2 separate regions of the Homo sapiens genome follow, and region 1 is linked to region 2. Evidence: promoter capture Hi-C in 16 types of primary human blood cells and fetal thymus (Javierre and others, 2016). All regions are on one chromosome and are shown on one strand. The core of a region is centred on a gene start or on the middle of the fragment in contact, and the rest is flanking DNA. Distances in the headings are between cores, read along the strand shown. Region 1 overlaps PRDM4 (PR/SET domain 4). Region 2 holds the start of ALKBH2 (alkB homolog 2, alpha-ketoglutarate dependent dioxygenase).

Region 1 (4,384 bases), core at 619-3,118, 1.3 Mb after region 2:
GGCTACAGGGATTTTTTGCTTTTTTTGTTTTTAAGACACAGTCTCACTCTGTCACCCCAGCTGGCGTGTAGAGGTACAGGCAGAGCTCACTGTAGCCCCGACCTCCCCACTTCAGCCTCCCCTGTAGTTGGAACCACAAGCACGAACCACCATGCCTGGCTAAGTTAAAAAAAATGTTTAGTAGAGACAGGGGTCTCACTGTGTTGCCTAGGGACGTCTCCAAGTCCTGGGCTCAAGCGATCCTTCTGCCTTGGCCTCCCAAAGTGTGGGATTACAGGTGTAAATCACCACACCTGGGCTGCTTTATTTTATAGCATAATAAAAACTGTTATTAGCATGCTGTTCTTCATAAGGTGTACCTCATTTGCCAGGTGCTTCTAGCTGTCTTTCTGGTAAGGGTGATGAGTTTGCATAGCTCCATCCGATAAAATAAGAAAATTCAGAATGTCTGTTCTATACAAGGTACTAGGTTGGCCTTTTACATTTTATTGATGTCTTAGAGCTTAGTTTTATGGGATCCATGGCCAGGGATAAGGGTGAAACCTAATAATGCAAGAAACAGGTCTATGTGGAACTTTAAATATACGCCACAATATAAGTAGATAGGCCCTAATGTATTGCAACTGTGTAAAAGGCAATATAGTTCTTTTATTGTAATTGTCTTTTTCTTACTATAGTTAAGAGCTTTGGTTTCTTAAATTAGTTCTGAATTTAAATCCCAGCTCTCCTTACTGGTTATGTGATTCTGGGTTAAGTTTCCTAGCATCATTGAATCTTAAGTTTCCTCATCTTTAAAGTGGGATTAAGAATAATACCTACCTCCAGCCTGGGCAACATAGGGAGACCCCATCTCTGCAAAATAAAAACAAATTAGCCAGGCATGGTGGCACTTGCCTGTGGTCCCAGCTGCTTGGGGGCTGAGGTGGGAAGATCTCATGAGCCTAGGAGGTAGAGGCAGCAGTCAGCTGTGATCACGCCACTGCACTCCAGCTTGCAGCTACTGAGCAAGACCCTGTCTCAAAAACAAAAAAAAAAAAAAAAAAAAAAAGAAGATTAAGAGAGATAGTTACATATAAATCACTTAGCCCAATACATAGCACATGGTAAGGGAGCCATAAATTTTAGCTATTATTATTTTCAGGTTGATTGATAAAATGGCATTGCCATTTTTCAGAATTAAAAACCTATTTAGATTTGATTTCACTGCTAAGGAATATGTAACCTCATTTGATTCCTCTTCTCTGCTTCACCCCCTCCCATACGCAGAGAATAAAGCCCAGTGTAAGGACTGGAGGTCATTAGAGAGCCCCTTTTGGGTAACCTGTTGGCTAGCCTAGTGGTTCTGTAATGTTTATAGTATGGCAGTCTCTAAATTATGATATAAGAACTAATACTTTTTGATAACAACCTTCAGTGCTGTTTTATTCAAATCAGTATTACTCTTATTCGAAAGACATTTGTAATGGCAGTGCAAGATGGTTTGCATAGAAAAGGTGATTCCTAGGTTCTTCACCTTGCCAAAAATAGTCTGTAGTTAAAAAAAAAGTTTGGTGCAGTTAAAAAAAAGTTTGGTGCAATGAAAAACTTTTTGGCAGTGTTTTGCAGTTTGATCTGTGATCTTTCACTTAATAGCTATGTGATTTGGGGCATATGACATGGCCTCTCTGAGCCATAGTTCCCTCATCTATCTTACGTTGCAGTATTGGTGTGAGGATTTGAAGTCATTTTAAGTGAAGTGGTAGCAAAGCTTACATAATGACCCTCAATATTTGGAGGACATTAATATACTGATACAGAATCTTAGTAAACTGTTGCTGAATGGGGAAAATACGATGCTTTTCACATCATCGATAATCTGGATCTTTAACTCCTATTAAAAATGATTAGTAAAATTTACTTGAGTAGGTTAAAATGCGCTGCCTAAAACACTACTGGTTTGAAATAATAAGCCATTTGGAGAAAAATAAATATTATAAAAGATGAAGCTTGAGTGATTTAAAAAAAAACTGTCATTGCCATTGTGCTCTAAGAATTGCAGACTTTGCTTTAGATGGTGTGCCTAGAGTTTCGAACAAGGCAGAATTCAAATCCTATTTCTGCTATGTGACATTGAATTGAGTTTTTAATGTCTCAATCTCAGTTTTCTTATCAGTAGAAAGAATATGGCACTAGCTATCTAAGAGAATTGTTGAGCGTAAAAGTGAACTAATAGTTGGCCAAGTCCCATTTCCCCATCCCCACTGTTTCAGTTTCTTCAGTATCTTAATACAGAGTCATTGGAGTAAATTTTTGCATAACTAGTTGTGTGTGCTCTTTTCTAGGATGAATGAAATGAACCTGAGTCCAGTGGGGATGGAGCAGCTGACTTCATCCTCTGTGAGCAATGCCTTGCCAGTCTCAGGAAGTCACCTGGGATTGGCTGCCTCACCCACTCACAGTGCCATCCCTGCCCCAGGTGAGTGGTAAGGGAGACCTACTGCATTTCAACACTTAACTCTGTTATCAATTCTAAATGGAGTCTAGAAGAGATCAGAGCCCCTTTAAGGGTAGAAGGTAGAAGGGAGAAGGTAAGCAGGCCTGAATGGTGGTTCAACATGTGATAGGTAATGGAAAATAAGGTTTTTGTAGAGGTAGAGTATTAGAATTCTAGTGGATAGTAGCAGCAATTTTTTCTGATAGTCCTCTTCTGAGTTGGTAGCTTTTTGTCCAGAGCTGTAATTAACTTGGCATTTTATTTAGGGCTGCCCATTCATCTGGTTCACACTTCAGTACCCGTTCCCTGGGTTAATAGAAGAGAATCAGTTAAAATTACTCTAATAACTATTCCCAGAGAGCATGGGGAATTGGGCTTTATATTCCACCAGGTTTGAAATTAAATGGCAATAACTGCAAGTGTACCAGGTCTAGAATTAATGTGGAAAGAAGTGTGGTACTTTTACCTGGGGCTTTTACATGGAACGCCTCATGAGCCTCCATACACAGCAAAATCGTATAGGAAAAATTCATTCTTCCTATCCTTTTTTTTTTGAAATGGAGTCTCACTCTGTCATCCAGGCTGGAGTGCAGGGGCACGATCTCGGCTCACTGCAACCTCCGCCTCCCGGGTTCAAGTGATTCTCCTGCTTCAGCCTCCTGAGTAGCTAGGATTATAGGCATGCACCCCTACACCTGGCTCATTTTCTTTTTTTTCTTTTTTGAGATGGAGTTTCGCTCTTGTCGACCAAGGTGGAGTGCAATGGCACGATCTCGGCTCACTGCAACCTCCGCCCGCCTCCCGGGTTCAAGCAATTCTCCTGCCTCAGCATCCCGAGTAGCTGAGACTACAGGCACACGCCACCATGCTCAACTAATTTTTTGTATTTTTAGTAGAAACGGGGTTTCACCATATTAGCCAGGCTGGTCTCGAACTCCTGCCCTCAGGTGATCCGCCCTCCTCGGCCTCCCAGAGTGCTGGGATTTTAGGTGTGAGCCACCGCGCCAGCCGTCACTGTACTTTTAAAACCTTTTTTCTGCCTAGCTTCATTTTCTTATTCTATTGAAATAGAATATAAATGGAATAAATATTCTATTGATTATTACAATGATAAGCTGTCAGTTCTTTAGGATCAATGACATTGTTATGTATTGGACTTTCTTTGTCACAGTAGGAGTTAGTATAAATAAATCTATATATTGTTTAAATAGTTCTCTAAAGAGAATTACTTGCTTAATTAATAAAATGCAGCAGTTAAATAAGATTCATTGAAACTAGGGTCTCTTCACATTTGTTTAAGTGTCCACAAAAGAAATCTTAAAAAATTATTAGTGGTTAACCCACTTGATTGTTTGTAGGCATTCCCTTTAGTGGACACTCTTGTTAAGGTGGAAAAGCCTGTTAAAAAATATTGCCAGCCAGGCACAGTGGCTCACGCCTATAATCCCAGCATTTTGAGAGGCCAAGGCAGGAGGATCACTTGAGCCCAGGAGTTCAAGATCAGCCTAGGTAACATAAGGAGACCCCATCTCTACAAAGAAAAAAAAAAAAATTAGCAGCGCATGGTGGCACACACCCGTAGTCCCAGCTACGTAGGAGCTACATAGGAGGCTGAGAAGGGATGGCCACTTGAGCCAGGAAAGCTCAGGTTGCCTGAGCCATGGTCATGCTACTACGCTCCAACCTGGGCAACATAGCAAAACCTTGTCTCAAAAAAAAAAAATATTGCCCCTGGCAAAAATATGCAAATCAGCACTGACCAAGTTGGTGGGTATTTATTATGATACTTAGCCCAGTAAAAGTCACTTCACTTTGCAAGTACATATAACTCAAAGTAGATATAATCTCACGTTTAAAGCTTTTATTAATCACTAAGTGTAGCATATATACAAAAGATTGTATGAAGGTGTA
Region 2 (4,161 bases), core at 468-2,967:
TGGAGACCAGCCTGGGCAACATGGCAAAAACCCATCTCTACAAAAAATACAAAAATTAGCCGGGTGTAGTGGTGCATGCCTGTAGTCCCAGCTACTTGGGAGGCTGAGGTGGGAGTGGAGCCTGGGAAGTGGAGGTTGCAGTGAGCCGAGATCATGCAACTGCACTCCAGCTTAGGCAGTAGAGCCAGACCTTGTCTCACAAAAAAAAGCGGGGAGGTGGGGGGGCGCATAAATGAATCTTAAAAGCAATATGCTTAAGTGAAAGAAGTCCCACAAAGGCATTTCTCATAGAGGCTGAGAGGTCCGAGGTTGAGGGGCTGCATCTGGTGAAAACCCTCTTGCTGGTGGGGACTCTGTTGAGTCCTGAAGCCGTGTAGGGCATCACATCGCGAGGGGCCTGAGTGTGCTAGCTCAGGTCTCTCTTCTTCCTTTTATAAAGCCACCAGTCCCACTCCCACGGTAACCCATTAACCCATTAACCCCTGAGCCCATTAATCTATTAATTCATTTATGAGGACATTATGACAGAGCTCTCATGTCCCAATCACCTCTTCAAGGCCCCACCTCTCAATACTGCCACACTGAGGATTAAATTTCAACGCGGATTTTGGAGGAACAGATATTCAAACCACGGCAATTCCCTGTATATGAAATTCTGGAAAAGGCAAAACTATAGGGAGAGAAGACAGATCAGTGGTTGCTGATGCTGGGTGATGGGCGAAGTTGATTAAGAGGCTGGAGCAGTTTTATGGAGGGACGGAACTGTCTTAGATCTTGATTGTGGTGGTGATCATACAATATTGTACATTTGTTGAAATCTGTCAAAACAAAGCCTCTGATCTCATGGAGCTTTCGTTCCATTGAGGGGAGACAGAGTAAATAAAAATTAGGAGCCGGTCGTGGTGGCTCACGCCTGTAATCCCAACAATTTGGGAGGCCCAGGTGGGAGGATCACTTGAGCCCAGGAGCTTGAGACCAGCCTGGGCAACATAGCAAGGCCCTATCTCTACTAAAAATAATAAAAAAATTATTTAGGGTGGGGTGGGATGTGCCTGTAGTCCCAGCTACTCCAGAGGCTGAGACGGGAGGATCGCTCTAACCCAGGAGTTCAAGGCTGCAGTGAGCTATGATCATGCCATTGCATTCCAGCTTGGGCAACAGAGTGAGATCCTGTCTCAAAAAAACAAAACAAACAAGAACAACATCAAAAAACAAGAAAACAAAGAAAAACGAGCAATAATGGAACCAACATTTATTTAGAGGACAGAGCATTTCTCATGCATCCTGTCATCTCCTCAGGCGCTCTCATGACATAGGTGCTGTAGTCCGCACTTCACAGATGAGGCAACTTAACCCCAGAGAGGTTAAGTGACCTGTGGGAGGCCACACAGCCAGGGCGGAGGAGACAGAAACAGAATCCACGATATCCGACTGCAGAACTCCTGCTCCCACTCGTGACAATATACTGGTGGCCCAACGCCCTTTCCGGACACCAAAGTAACCCTCACTGAGAAGTGACGCCAAGCCACAGTTCTCACCCCAGCCGTGATTCTCGACAGTGGCCCAACAGGTGATCAACGGGAAAGCGGCAGTGCTTGCCACACACGGGAGGCCAGCAGGTGGCACCAGGGGGCCGCCCGGCTGCTCTCTTTGCGCCCTAGCCTGCCGTAGTTCCCAGCGTGCTCCGGAAGTGACGCGACCGATTCGCTGGGGCGCGTCTTTCCCACCACGAGGCCACCAGGGTGACTGCGGGATTCCGATCTGCGCCGGAGCTGCGATGCTAGAGCACTCTTGCCACCCCCACCCCACGGACGTGTTGCAGTGATATCAGAATTTTGCGTGCGGTTTACCCGTGTTTAACCTCTTTGCGTCTCGCTTCTGAATCGTATCCACTTGAGCATCACTAGACTGATCTATTTTAACACTGGTGGGGGGCAGCGAGGTCAGTTATGGGTCCTTCCTCCTTAAAGGGGTGGACAGTTGACTTTGGGCAAACCTCTTCGCCTCTGTGGGCAACAGTTTCCCCTTCTGCAAAATGAGGGTTTGGATTGTAGTTTCTAAGTTTAGCTGTGGCGTGCGAATTCCCAGGAGGTAGTTCTTTAAAAATTCAGGTGCTCAGGCGTGGAGTGCAGACCTCTGGGTTTTTGCAAGCTAGCCAGCTGATTCTGATGCACAGGTGGACGTGGGAGACCCTGGATCAGATTGTCCCTAGGGTCCCTTCCGGCTTTAACATCTTCTGTTTCCTTTCTAGGACATGGTTTTAAACTTTAAAATGAAAATGTGAAACTAGGAATGTTGCTGTGAGACCCCTTGGACAAACAGATTTTTGCACTGGGGATAGAACTTGAGCAATTTCTGTCTTGGCCTCGCCACTGACGTCCCTTCTTTCCTGTGGGGACAGGATGGACAGATTCCTGGTGAAAGGGGCTCAAGGGGGCCTTTTGAGGAAGCAGGAGGAGCAAGAGCCAACTGGAGAAGAGCCAGCTGTGTTGGGAGGAGACAAAGAAAGCACAAGGAAGAGGCCCAGGAGAGAGGCCCCAGGGAATGGAGGCCACTCAGCAGGCCCTAGCTGGCGGCACATTCGGGCTGAGGGCCTGGACTGCAGTTACACAGTCCTGTTTGGCAAAGCTGAGGCAGATGAGATTTTCCAAGAGTTGGAGAAAGAAGTAGAATATTTTACAGGTAAGCAGAGGGGTGTGTGTGTGTGTGTGTGTGCATTGAGGGCTTGTTTGGTGCAATTAATGATCGTATGTTTGGAGAAATCTGAACTCAGGATCCATTATTTACTGATGGGTTCACTAATGGATTCATCCAATATTCTCTGAGCACCTCTGGGCTAAGCCCCTTAGGTGCTTGGGACATAAACTTGAAAGAAACTGGATTGCCTGTCTACTAGGAGCTGACAGATGACTCGAGTGAATCTCTCCTTGGCTACTGATGAGTATCTTCTGGGAAAGTTTACAAAACAAAGTAAAAAAACGTGCTGGGTTCTACTGCAGAGCACTTCAATCAGAATCGCTCCGAGTGCAGGCTGACCACTTGTTTGTTTAAAAAGCTTCCAGGTGATTCTCATGGGCAGTCAGGGTTTGAGAATCACTGGTCTCATAGGAGAGATGGCAAATAACCAGGTAATTTCTCCACACCAGTGGTTCTCAGCATCACCTGGTGGACTTGCTGTTGGCAGGACTTGGATTGCTGGACCCTACCCCTGTGGTTTAGTTTAGTTTCTAAGGAGAGTCCAGGTGCTGCTGGTCTGGGGAGCACATGTTGAGAACCACACCTCTATCCTGTAATGAGGACACAAGGATCTGGCAGAGAGGCATAGAAAAGCCCACAGGAAGCTAGGCGTGGTGGCTCGCGCCTGTAATCCCAGCACTTTGGGAGCCCGAGACGGGCGAATCACTTGAGGTCAGGAGTTCGAGACCAGCTTGGCCAATATGGTGAAACCCTATCTCTACTAAAATACAACAACAACAACAAAAAATGAGCTGTGCGTAGTGGTGCATGCCTGTAGTCCCAGCTACTTGAGAGGCTGAGGCAGGACAATCACTTGAAACCGGGAGGCAGAGGTTGCAGTGAGCCGAGATCGCACCACTGCACTCCAGCCTGGGCAACAGAGTGAGACTGTGTCTCAAAACAAAACAAAACAAAAAACGAAAGCCCACAGGCCAGGCACGGTGGTACACACCTGTAATCCCAGCTACTCTGGAGGCTGAGGCAGGAGGATCACTTGAGGCCAGGAGTTCAAGTCCAGCCTGGGCAACATAGTGAGACCCCCTCGTCACTTTATTCTTTTATGCTTTGAGACAGGGTCTCGCTCTGTCACCTAGGCTGGAGGGCAGGGGCACGATCTTGGCTCACTGCAGCCTCGTCCGCCTGGGCTCAAGTGATTCTCCCACCTCAGCATCCTAAGTAACTGGGACCACAGATGTACACCACCAAGCCTGGATAATTTTTAAATTATCTGTAGGTCTCACTGTGTTACCCAGGCTGTTAATTGAACTCCTGGCCTTGAGTGATCCTCGCCTTGGCCTCCCAAAGTGCTGGGATTGCAAGCATGAGCCAGCGCGCCTGGCTCACCATCTCTTTAAAAAAAGAAATGCCCACAAGAGACCCCAGCAGTGTGAGCCCCATCTTTCATGGGGTCACATGCCCTTAGTC

The links. The method cuts DNA at HindIII sites, captures the fragments that hold promoters and counts their contacts. A CHiCAGO score of 5 or more calls a contact.
Region 1: a contact is called between a fragment that was not itself captured here and the fragment with the promoter of ALKBH2 in region 2, in 1 of 17 cell types (total CD8 T cells). The highest score is 5.1, in total CD8 T cells.

The regions. Positions count from the first base shown.
Region 1 is chr12:107,754,903-107,759,286 of GRCh38, reverse strand. It overlaps PRDM4 (PR/SET domain 4), which reads left to right. Exons shown (of 12, transcript NM_012406.4): 3 at 2,322-2,455. PRDM4-AS1 (PRDM4 antisense RNA 1) reads right to left here. Exons shown (of 5, transcript NR_120474.1): 4 at 895-1,012. Among named protein-coding and RNA genes, the nearest start is that of PRDM4, 4.0 kb to the left of the region's middle. The HindIII fragment of the contact is 238 bases long and covers 1,750-1,987 here.
Region 2 is chr12:109,091,028-109,095,188 of GRCh38, reverse strand. It overlaps ALKBH2 (alkB homolog 2, alpha-ketoglutarate dependent dioxygenase), which reads left to right and starts at 1,717. Exons shown (of 4, transcript NM_001145374.2): 1 at 1,717-1,942; 2 at 2,252-2,682. The coding sequence starts at 2,403. The HindIII fragment of the contact is 3,285 bases long and covers 1-3,057 here.